2 separate regions of the Homo sapiens genome follow, and region 1 is linked to region 2. Evidence: promoter capture Hi-C in 16 types of primary human blood cells and fetal thymus (Javierre and others, 2016). All regions are on one chromosome and are shown on one strand. Each heading gives the region's core, a stretch centred on a gene start or on the middle of the fragment in contact. The rest is flanking DNA. Distances are from core to core; before and after follow the strand shown. Region 1 has its middle 9.8 kb from the start of DNAJC22. Region 2 holds the start of RHEBL1 (RHEB like 1).

Evidence for each region. The method cuts DNA at HindIII sites, captures the fragments that hold promoters and counts their contacts. A CHiCAGO score of 5 or more calls a contact.
Region 1: a contact is called between a fragment that was not itself captured here and the fragment with the promoter of RHEBL1 in region 2, in 1 of 17 cell types (M2 macrophages). The highest score is 5.3, in M2 macrophages.

Annotation. Positions count from the first base shown.
Region 1 is chr12:49,354,217-49,359,205 of GRCh38, reverse strand. No RefSeq gene overlaps it. Among named protein-coding and RNA genes, the nearest start is that of DNAJC22, 9.8 kb to the right of the region's middle. The HindIII fragment of the contact is 347 bases long and covers 1,676-2,022 here.
Region 2 is chr12:49,068,315-49,073,199 of GRCh38, reverse strand. RHEBL1 (RHEB like 1) reads left to right here and starts at 3,221. Exons shown (of 8, transcript NM_144593.3): 1 at 3,221-3,466; 2 at 4,094-4,165. The coding sequence starts at 3,415. RefSeq lists enhancers at 2,778-2,827, 3,198-3,507 and a silencer at 3,058-3,177. The HindIII fragment of the contact is 17,864 bases long and covers 1-4,885 here.

The sequences.
Region 1 (4,989 bases), core at 600-3,099, 290 kb before region 2:
TTGAGGCGACTAACAGAAATACTGCAGGGAACATGAAGCAAAAGAAAAACATTTTAAATCACCTTCTCAGGGTGGGAACTTCAAAAGCCAAAGCACTGGCATGAGATGTGCGTTCAAAGTTCTAACATGAAATAGACAGCTCTAGATTCCCCTAGGAGATTAAATGACAACTGAAAAGCATGCTTCAGTTGGAGCTTGCTTTGAATAACACCCCAAATCCAACTTCACAGTTGCTTGCTCCTTCTCAGCAAAAGGAGAGGACTGAACTCTGGTAATGAACCTGCTATGGAGGTGCCACTACCACATTTTTTTTTAAGTGAAGGGGACAGCCGAGGGACATATTTTACCATGACAGCCTTGTAGCGCCATCTGCAGTTCCTAGCTAAGACTACAACAAACCACACGTCTCCAGGCTTGTTAGGACCACCCCACTGTTCAAGAGAAAAGAAAACTAAGACATAGAGTACTAAAGTCAGTGAGTCCTCAAAAGCCTCCTGGGTCCTAGAGTAGATGCAAACATAGCTCTAAGACACAGTGCCTAGGAAAAGATCTAAGGGCCTCAGTTGACTATAAACTCAATGAGTCACACTTACATAGCAACCAAAAAAAGCTAGTAAATTTTTAGGCTGCTGGATTTAAAGGATGATATATTGTTCAGACCTTGAGAACGTAACAGCCCCACAGTACCCCGTTCTGTCTGAACACGTCTCAGAATTGCATTTAGTTCTGGGCACCACAATTTAAGAGCAATATTGACAAGAGCTATAAAAAATGTTCATACCCTTTGACCCAGTAATCCCACCCATGGGAATTTATTCTAAGGAAATAATTCAAGAGAAGAGATGAATTAGAGCCATGAAGATATCGATGCCACATTATTTACAACAACATTATATAAATGTTTATCAAAAAGGGAATATTATACAGCTTTAAGATATAATGGTGTGTTATTAAAAAATAAAATGTAATGATAATGCATGCTTCAACATATTTGAATCATTTTTTCTTTTCTTTTCTTTTTTTTTTTTTTGAGAGTCTCGTTCTGTCACCCAGGCTGGAGTGCGGTGGCACAATCTCAGCTCACTGCAACCTCCTCCGCCTCCCAGGTTCAGACGATACTCCTGCCTCAGCCTCCTGAGTAGCTGGGACTACAGATGCATGCCACCACACCCAGCTAATTTTTGTATTTTTAGTAGAGACAGGGTTTCACCATGTTGGTCAGGCTGCTCTCAAACTCCTGACCTCGTGATCCGCCCACCTCAGCCACCCAAAGTGCTGGGATTACAGGCGTGAGCCACCACACCCAGCCCATATTTGAATCTTGGAAACATTATGTTCAATGAAAGAAGCCAGACACACACAAAGGACAACATATTGTGTGATGCCATTTAAATAAAATGTCCAGGATAGGCAAATCTAGAGACAGAAAGCAGATCAGTGATTGCAGAGGCTAGGAAGAGGAGGAAACAGAGAGTGATTGCTGATGAGTATGGAGTTTCTTTTTGGGGTGGTAAAACATTCTGGAATTAAATAGAGGTGATAATTATACAACTTTGTGAATCTATCAGAAACCACTGAATTGTACACTTTTAAAGGGTGAAGTTTATGCTATATGAATTATATCTCAATTAAATATATATAATAACAAAGTCTTTATAGTAATATTTTAAAAGCTTATTGAATCACAAGCATTTTTTTATTTTACTGTAAAAACATCATCTTTATCAGGGAGGGGGGAAAGTACAAAATTATGTCCCTGATATGATTCAACCATGTAAAATGATGTACATTTATGAACGACGACTAGAAGTGAACATGAATAACTGAAAACAAACAGTGTGATGCAAGTGAATTTTTGGAGGGTGAGATGGTCATTATATTGTTCTTCGAGCAATTAAATATTTTATTTTCTTCCCAAAACAATGTCCACAAGGGGGCAGACAGAAGATGACAAATAAAACCATTTAATAAAAACCTCAGCTGAAAAGCTAATAACTCCAGAATGCAGGTTGAAAGCAAGCTTAAAGGTCATCTAGGCTGGGGTCAGTAGCTCATGCCTGTAATCCCAACACTTTGGGAGGCCAAGGTGAGAGGATTGCTTGAGCCCAGGAGGTAAAGGCTGCAGTGAGCTATGACCGTGCCACTGCACACCAGCCTGTGCAACAAAGTAGATTTCGTCTCAAAAAAAAAAAAATCATCTAAGTCATCTAAGTCCATCTCCCTCACCTGACAAGAAAGAAACAGAGGCCCTAATGGAAAGGTGGCTCACCCAAAGTCACCAGTATGGTCAATGCAAGAGGTAGAAGTAGAGACCCATCTCTTCACCTCTTCATCCCTCCTCACTCGGACTACAGTGCCTCCTCCTTAAACAAAGTGATGGTAAATGTGGCAAATGAAAGACTTAGAGAGATAGGAGATGAAGGGCAGAATCTCATCAAGAAATGGTTTTTGGTTTTTTATGTTCTTTGTAGCAAGAGATGGCAGGTCCAGAAAGACATTACAAGGAAGCAAATTTAGGAACAATTTAGGGAACAATTAAGGATGTCTAAAAGGTGAGACAGGTAGAAGATTTCCAATTCAAGCAAAACCCGAAATGGTCATCTCTAAGGCAAGCTTTTCCCAAGATTCTGTACTGTATAGTTGCTTGGGATACAGGCCTTCTCAGTTCCCTTCCAACTCTTCAAAGTATCTATGAATTTTTGTTTTGTGCAAATGGGAGAATATGAAATCACTGGATTTCATTAAATCAACTAAGGTAGAAAATAAAGAAGACTCACTTGTTAATGTCTTAGATTTCCTATTATTTTACTAAATGTCCTTTTTTTAAGACCGTATTTTGGGTTTTGTTTTAATTTCATTTACTTATTTGTTTTTATTTTGTTTATTTATTTATTTATTTCAGACTGTGTCTCACTCTGTTGCCCAGGCTGGAGTACAGGGGCGCAATCACAACTCACTCATGATTGACCTTCTGGGCAGCCACATTTTCTTTTTTCTTTTTTTTTTCTTTTTATTTTTTGAGACGGAGTCTCACTCTGTTGCCCAGGCTGGAGTGCAGAGGCGCCATCTCGGCTCACTGTAACCTCCGCCCCCCTGGGTTCAAGCGATTCTCCCCACTCAGCCTCCAGAGTAGTTGGGACTACAGGCGTGTGCCACCATGCCCGGCTCATTTTTGTATTTTTTGTGTTTTTTATTTTTTGAAGTGGAGTCTCACTCTGTCGCCCAGGCTGGTGTGCAATGGCGCAGTCTCAGCTCACTGCAACCTCCACCTCCTGGGTTCAAGTGATTCTCCTGCCTCAGCCTCCTGAGTAGCTAGGATTACAGGCATGTGCCACCACGCCTGGCTAATTTTTTGTATTTTTAGTAGAGAAAGGGTTTCACCATATTGGCCAGGCTGGTCTCAAACTCCTGACCTCAGGTGATCCACCAACCTCAGCCTCCCAGAGTGCTGAGATTACAGGTGTGAGTCACCACGCCTGGCCACAGCAACCCTTTTAAAGTAGATACTTGGCTCATACCTGTAATCCCCGCACTTTCGTAGGCCAAACGGGAGGGTGGGTTGAAACTAGAAGTTAGAGACCAGGTTGGGCAACATGGCAAGACCCCATCTCTACCAAAAAAAAAAAAAAAAAGAAAAAAAGCCAGGTATGGTGATGCCTGTCTGTAGTCCCAGCTACTTGGGAGGTTGAGGCAGGAGGATCACTTGGGCCCAGGAGTTCCAGGCTACAGTGAGCTGTGATCACCCCACTAAACTCCAGCCTGGGCAACAGAGCAAGACCCTGTCTCAATAAATAAATAAATGAAAAAACAATTTTTTTTTTGAGACAGAGTCTCGCCCTACCACTCAGGCTGGAGTGCAGTGGTGCGATCTCAGCTCACTACCTCATCTCTGCCTCCCGGGTTCAAGTGATTCTCCTGCCTCAGCCTCCTGAGTACTTGGGATTACAGGCATGCCCCGCTGTACCTGGCTAATTTTTGTATTTTTAGTAGAGATGGGTTTTCACCATGTTGGCCAAGCTGGTCTCAAACTCCTGACCTCAGGTGATCCGCCTGCCTTGGCCTCCCAAAATGGTGGGATTACAAGCGTGAGCCACCGCGTCCAGCCAAAAAATTTTTTTGAATAAAGTAGATACTATTATCTCAATTTTAAAGGAAACTAAGATTCTAAGAGGCTGAAGAAATAAAAAATACGACAACTAGAAAATAACGTAACATGATTCAAATCCTACTGTTGTTCTTCTGACTCTAAAACTCATGCTCAAGGATGAAAGACAACTCATAGGCGAGGGAAAAATATCTACAACACATATTACGAGGGTTAAGGTTTCTAACATGCAAGGATTCCACCAAACTAGATTTGAAAGCGACAAATAGGAACACAACTTTAGAATAAATGGAGAATATGATGAAGCAATTCACTGAAGAGAAAATCCAAATGCCCAATAAAGATTTGAAGAGATGCTGAACTTCATTAGGAGTCAGGGAAATGCAAATTAAAGTAATTAGATACTATTTCTCACGATCATCTTGACAAAAGTTTAAAAGAGTGGTAACATTCCAGGCCAGTTACAAAGAAAATGCCAGTTTCTTGCACTTGGTGAAAGTCTAAACCATTAAAACGTTTTTCAGAAGAAATCTGATACAATATCAACCAAATACATTTGTTTGAGGCAGGTTCTTGCTGTGTTGTCCAGGATAGAGTGCAGTGATACCATCACAGCTCACTGTAGCCTCAACCTCCCAGGATCAAGCAATCTTTCCACCTCAGCCTCCCAACTAGCTGGGACTACTGGCACATGCCACCACACCTAGCTAATTTTGTGTTTGTTTGTTTTGTTTTTTTAGTAGAGATGAGGTCTCACTAGGTTGCTCAAGCTGGTCTTGAACTCCTGAGCTCAAGCTATCCTCCCACCTCAACCTCCCAAAGTGCTGGGATGCCAGGCCTGAGCCACCATGCGTGGCCCAATATGATATCAATCAAAATTGTAA
Region 2 (4,885 bases), core at 1,972-4,471:
CAGGCGTGAGCCACCGTGCCTAGCTTCTTTTTTTTTTTTTTTTTTTTTTTTTTTTTTTGATACAGGGTCTTTGTTGTCCAGGATGGAGTGCAGTGGCACAAACATGGCTCACTGCAGCCTCAACCTCCTTGGGCTCAGGTGATCCTTTCACTTCAGCCTTCCAAGTAGCTTGAGACTACAGGCACGTGCCACCATGCCCGGCTAATTTTTCTTCTTTTTTTTTTCTGTATTTTTTATAGCAACAGGCTTTTGCCATGTTGCCTACCTAGGCTGGTCTCGAACTCCTGAGCTCAAGCAATTCACCTGTATGGCCTCCCAAAGTCCTGGGATTACAGGCCTGAGCCACCACGTCAGGCCAAAACATTTATTTATAATCACATTGTCTTTTGCCTTCCTTTACTATAGACATTGGAAAAGAAAATGCTAAAATTTCCAGGTTCCCTTACAACTAGAAATGACTATATAAAACAATCTTGTTCAATGAGATGTAGGTGAATATCTGCTGTGAGAGCTTCCCTTACCAGGTAAAAAGAAAAAGTCACAAGAGGAGAAAGCCCTTTGCCTTGGCTCTTTTGCTTTCTCTCTGATTCAAAACAGGAGAATTCAGATGGTTTAATAAAGAGACTATTTACAAAGATGTGGGCAGGGTATAGGGAGACCACAACAGATAGAGCAATGCCCCAAGGTGAATAACAGAAAAGAGGCTGATACTGCTATAGGCATAAAGGCTGAGGGGAGTCACTGAAAACCAGGAGAGAGCTGTGTGTGTGTGTGTTGGAGGAGGCAGCTGCCTTGAGAGGTACTGTGACCTTCAATGGGGGACAGAGCCACTCTCCTCTGTCCATTGAATCTTCTGTGTGTGCTTTCCTTTGGCTGAGCTTCACTGAAAGCCAGGAGACAAGGTCTGCCTCCTGGACATAAATCTGGGTGGAAAAGAATGGAGAGTTCATATGGACGGGACAAGCAGTATAAAAGGCATCTGTTATTTATTTCTGTATCCTAGTGTGCAACACATAGTAAGAGTGCCTGGCACAAAGTAGAAGATGAATATATATATATATATATATATATATTTTTTTAAGATGGAGTCTCACTCTGTCTCCCAGGCTGGAGTGCAGAGTACAATGGTGCAATCCCGGCTCACTGCAACCTCTGCCTCCCGTGTTCAAACGATTCTCCTGCCTCAGCCTCCTGAGTAGCTGGAATTACAGGCATGCACCATCACGCACGGCTAATTTTTGTATTTTTAGTAGAGACGGGGTTTCACTATGTTGGACAGGCTGGTCTCGAACTCCCGACCTCAAGCGATCCGTCCACCTCAGCCTCCCAAAGTGCTGGGATTACAGGCATGAGCCACCATGCCCGGCCTAGGGCTTTTGTGAATATTAAATGAGATAACAATAAAATGCACCTGGCACATAGTATAGTCGAACTCTCTATAAATCTAGGTGATTTCCTTCCTTTCTTCCCTCCTCTACCAATCCTTCCACAAGTCATTTTAACCTTAGCTTCAGAATATCCTGAATTCTCAACTTCATTCAACATGATCACTCTAGTCAAGCGCTCTCATCTCTCACCTGGACTACAGGTAACAGTTTCCTCGCCAATCTCCCTGCTTCCTTTTGCTCCTGTTACCCTCAAACCCCAATCTATTCACTACAGCCAGGGAGATTTTTTAGAAAGACAATTTAGATCATGTCATGCCCCAGCTTAAATACCTTCAAGTACTTAGAATTAGCCCAGACTCCTTTATGTGGCCTGGCCTCTGCCATTCTCTTAGACTTCATCTGCTTTAGGCTAACTGGCTTTCTTTTTTTCTTCCCCTCTTCCTGGAATTTACCCAATTTATTTCCATCTTAACGCCTTAGCATTGGTGGATTCTTCTTGTGAAATCTCCTAGTTGGTTCCTTCAGATCTTAGTTTAAATGGGGTTTCCTATGAGAGAAAGTATCACTAAAGTGGTCATCTCAGCCAGGCTCGGTGGCTCACGTCTGTAATCCCAGCACTTTGGGAGGCCGGGTCAGGTGGATCACTTGAGGCTAGGCGTTCGAGACCAGCCTGGGCAACATAGCAAAACCCCATCTCTCCCCAAAATACAAAAATTAGCCAGTCTCATAACCCTGTCTCAAAATAAATAAAGAAAAAAAATTAAAAATGCTGTATTGTCTTTAAAAAATAAAGTGGTCGGCCGGGCGCGGTGGCTCACGCCTGTAATCCCATCACTTTGGGAGGCCGAGGCGGGCGGATCACGAGGTCAGGAGATGGAGGCCATGCTGGCTAACACGGTGAAACCCCGTCTCTACTAAAAATACAAAAAATTAGCCGGGCGCGGTGGCGGGCGCCTGTAGTCCCAGCTACTCTGGAGGCTGAGGCAGGAAAATGGCGTGAACCCGGGAGGCGGAGCTTGCAGTGAGCCGAGATAGAGCCACTGCCCTCCGGCCTGGTAGAAAGAGCGAGATTCCGTCTCAAAAAAAATAAAAATAAAAATAAAAAAATAAAAAAAATAAAGTGGTCATCTTTCATCACACCATCTTCTACAGCACTTAACACTCTCTGATATTTCCTTGTTGTATGTTTGTTTCTCCCTTCATAAGAGCAGACACATTGTCTGTGATGTCCATGTTCTGACCCCAAAGCTGGAGCAATGCCTGAAACATGTAGTATATACTCAGTATTTGTTGAAAAATGAATATTTGAGGATCATGATGATGAAGAAGAAACCTCAGACTACTTGATCATAAATTCTAGCAATTTCTGCAAGAATAAGAATTGCAGTTTGAAATTAGATGCTGGAAGACTGGAAACCTTGATAGGTCTGGGGCTGAAGGCTGGGGGAAGCAGAAGGAATATACTAGAACTTTGGCGGTTTTCTCCCTATCTAAGGACCCCAGAGACCATGCAAAAGGGAGGGCTAGAATCTTATGACCGGAAACCACAAAACGGGTATTTTCCATCCATAATTCTTCGAAGCCACTTCAGCTAGGCTGTAAATGCGCAAACGCCTTTAGGACCCCGGGTTCCTTTCTGTTTCTTTATGAATGAACCGGCTCCAGTCTGCGCACGCGCAGCTCCCAGTTCTCCCGCTCCACGTGAGGCCCACCCTTCCCTCCTGCTGGCGGCACCGCCCTTACCCATTCTAATGGACCAATGGCGAGCGGCCTGGGGGGCGGAGCCCGGCGCGGCGCGGCTCAGTAGTTCCCCGGGCGCCCGGCTCCCTGGCGTTAGACGTGCTGTGTTGTGATCACGTGGGCAGCTCCGGGCGCGGCGCTTGTTTTGGTTTCCTTCTAACTTGCCCACGGCAGCTTCGGGGTGAGCGACTTTCCTGCACCAGCTGCCGCGCCTGCTCACACCCTGACCTCGTTTTCGGGCTCTCTGAGCCCGCAGTTCCGCAAGCCCCTGGGGCGGGCTCCTGCCATGCCGCTAGTCCGCTACAGGAAGGTGGTCATCCTCGGATACCGCTGTGTAGGTGAGTCTCCGCCCTGCAGAGCTCGGACGCGCAGCAGCTTTGTAGCCAGAAGAGGCGCGCTGCCGTGGGAACGCGACCCAGGGAGGAATGATGACATCGTAAGGATGGGGTTGTAGAGCGAGGATTGGAAGAGTGGAGGAATGGAAGAGTGGAGGATTGGAAGAGTTGGTGGTGTGTGGAGGCTGCAGGAAGCGGGAGCACTTAAGGGTTAATGCGGACCTGGCTGCGGGAATCTCAGAGTGGTCCCAGCGTTACTTTGGGGATAGGGGTGGGGTCACAATTTGAAAACCGGGACGCGGTCTCCGTGGGGACAGATAGTCGCAGGTGTCCTGGGGCGGGGCGGACTTGATCCTAGGGAATCTTGGATCTTCCTACGAGTGGGATGGGGTGGGGAAGGCGGCGGGAAAGGCTTCCTGCTGCGCTTCTGAATGCATCCGGTAGCCAAAGTGCGGAGACCCTGGGTGAAAAGAGGGTGAGGGTAGACACAAAGGATAGCATTGCTTGAGGCACTCACAGACTGTGGTGTTAATTTGGGGTCTCCTTTGGTCCTGGGCCACAGTCCGAAAGGACAGAGGATGTGAATGTGGATGGATGATTTGGATACAACTGTCACACTGCTCCCCACAGGGAAGACATCTTTGGCACATCAATTTGTGGAAGGCGAGTTCTCGGAAGGCTACGATCCTACAGTGGAGAATAGTGAGTAGACTTCTCCCCTAGTGTGCTGGTGGTATGCGACCCGGAGGGCTTGGATACCCCACCCAACTCCATAATTTATTTCTCTGGTGCCAAGGGGCTGATTTATTTAGACATTACATCTGATTTCTTCTTTAGCAATCCTGTTCGATGGATGGCTAGAGTATGGATTTTGCAAGATATTGAGTCTGGGATAGTTTAGATGTAGACATTAAGAACCTTAGCGTGTCTTTCCAGTTACCTGGATAACTCCCTGGAGCTGATCTATCTGTGTCACCCCCAAGGTTAAGAATGTAAGGGGAGGCTGGGCGCAGTGGCTCATGCCTGTAATCCCAGCACTTTGGGAAGCTGAGGCGGGCGGATGGATTGAGGTCTGGATTTCGAGACCAACCTGGCCAACATGGTGAAACCTCATCTCTACTAAAAATACCAAAATTAGCTGGGCATGGTGGCGCACGCCTGTAATCCCAGCTACAAAGGAGACTGAGGTAGGAGAATCGCTTGAACCCAGGAGGCAAAAGTGGCAGTGAGCCAAGGTCGTGCCACTGCACACCAGCCTGGGTGTCAGGGTGAGACTGTCTCAAAAAAAAAAAAAAAAAAAAAAAAAAGCTGGGCACCGTGGCTTATGCCTGTAATCCCAGTTCTTTGGGAGGCCAAGGCAGGTGGATCACCTGAGGTCAAGAGTTCGAGACCAGCCTGGCCAACATGGTGAAACCCCGTCTC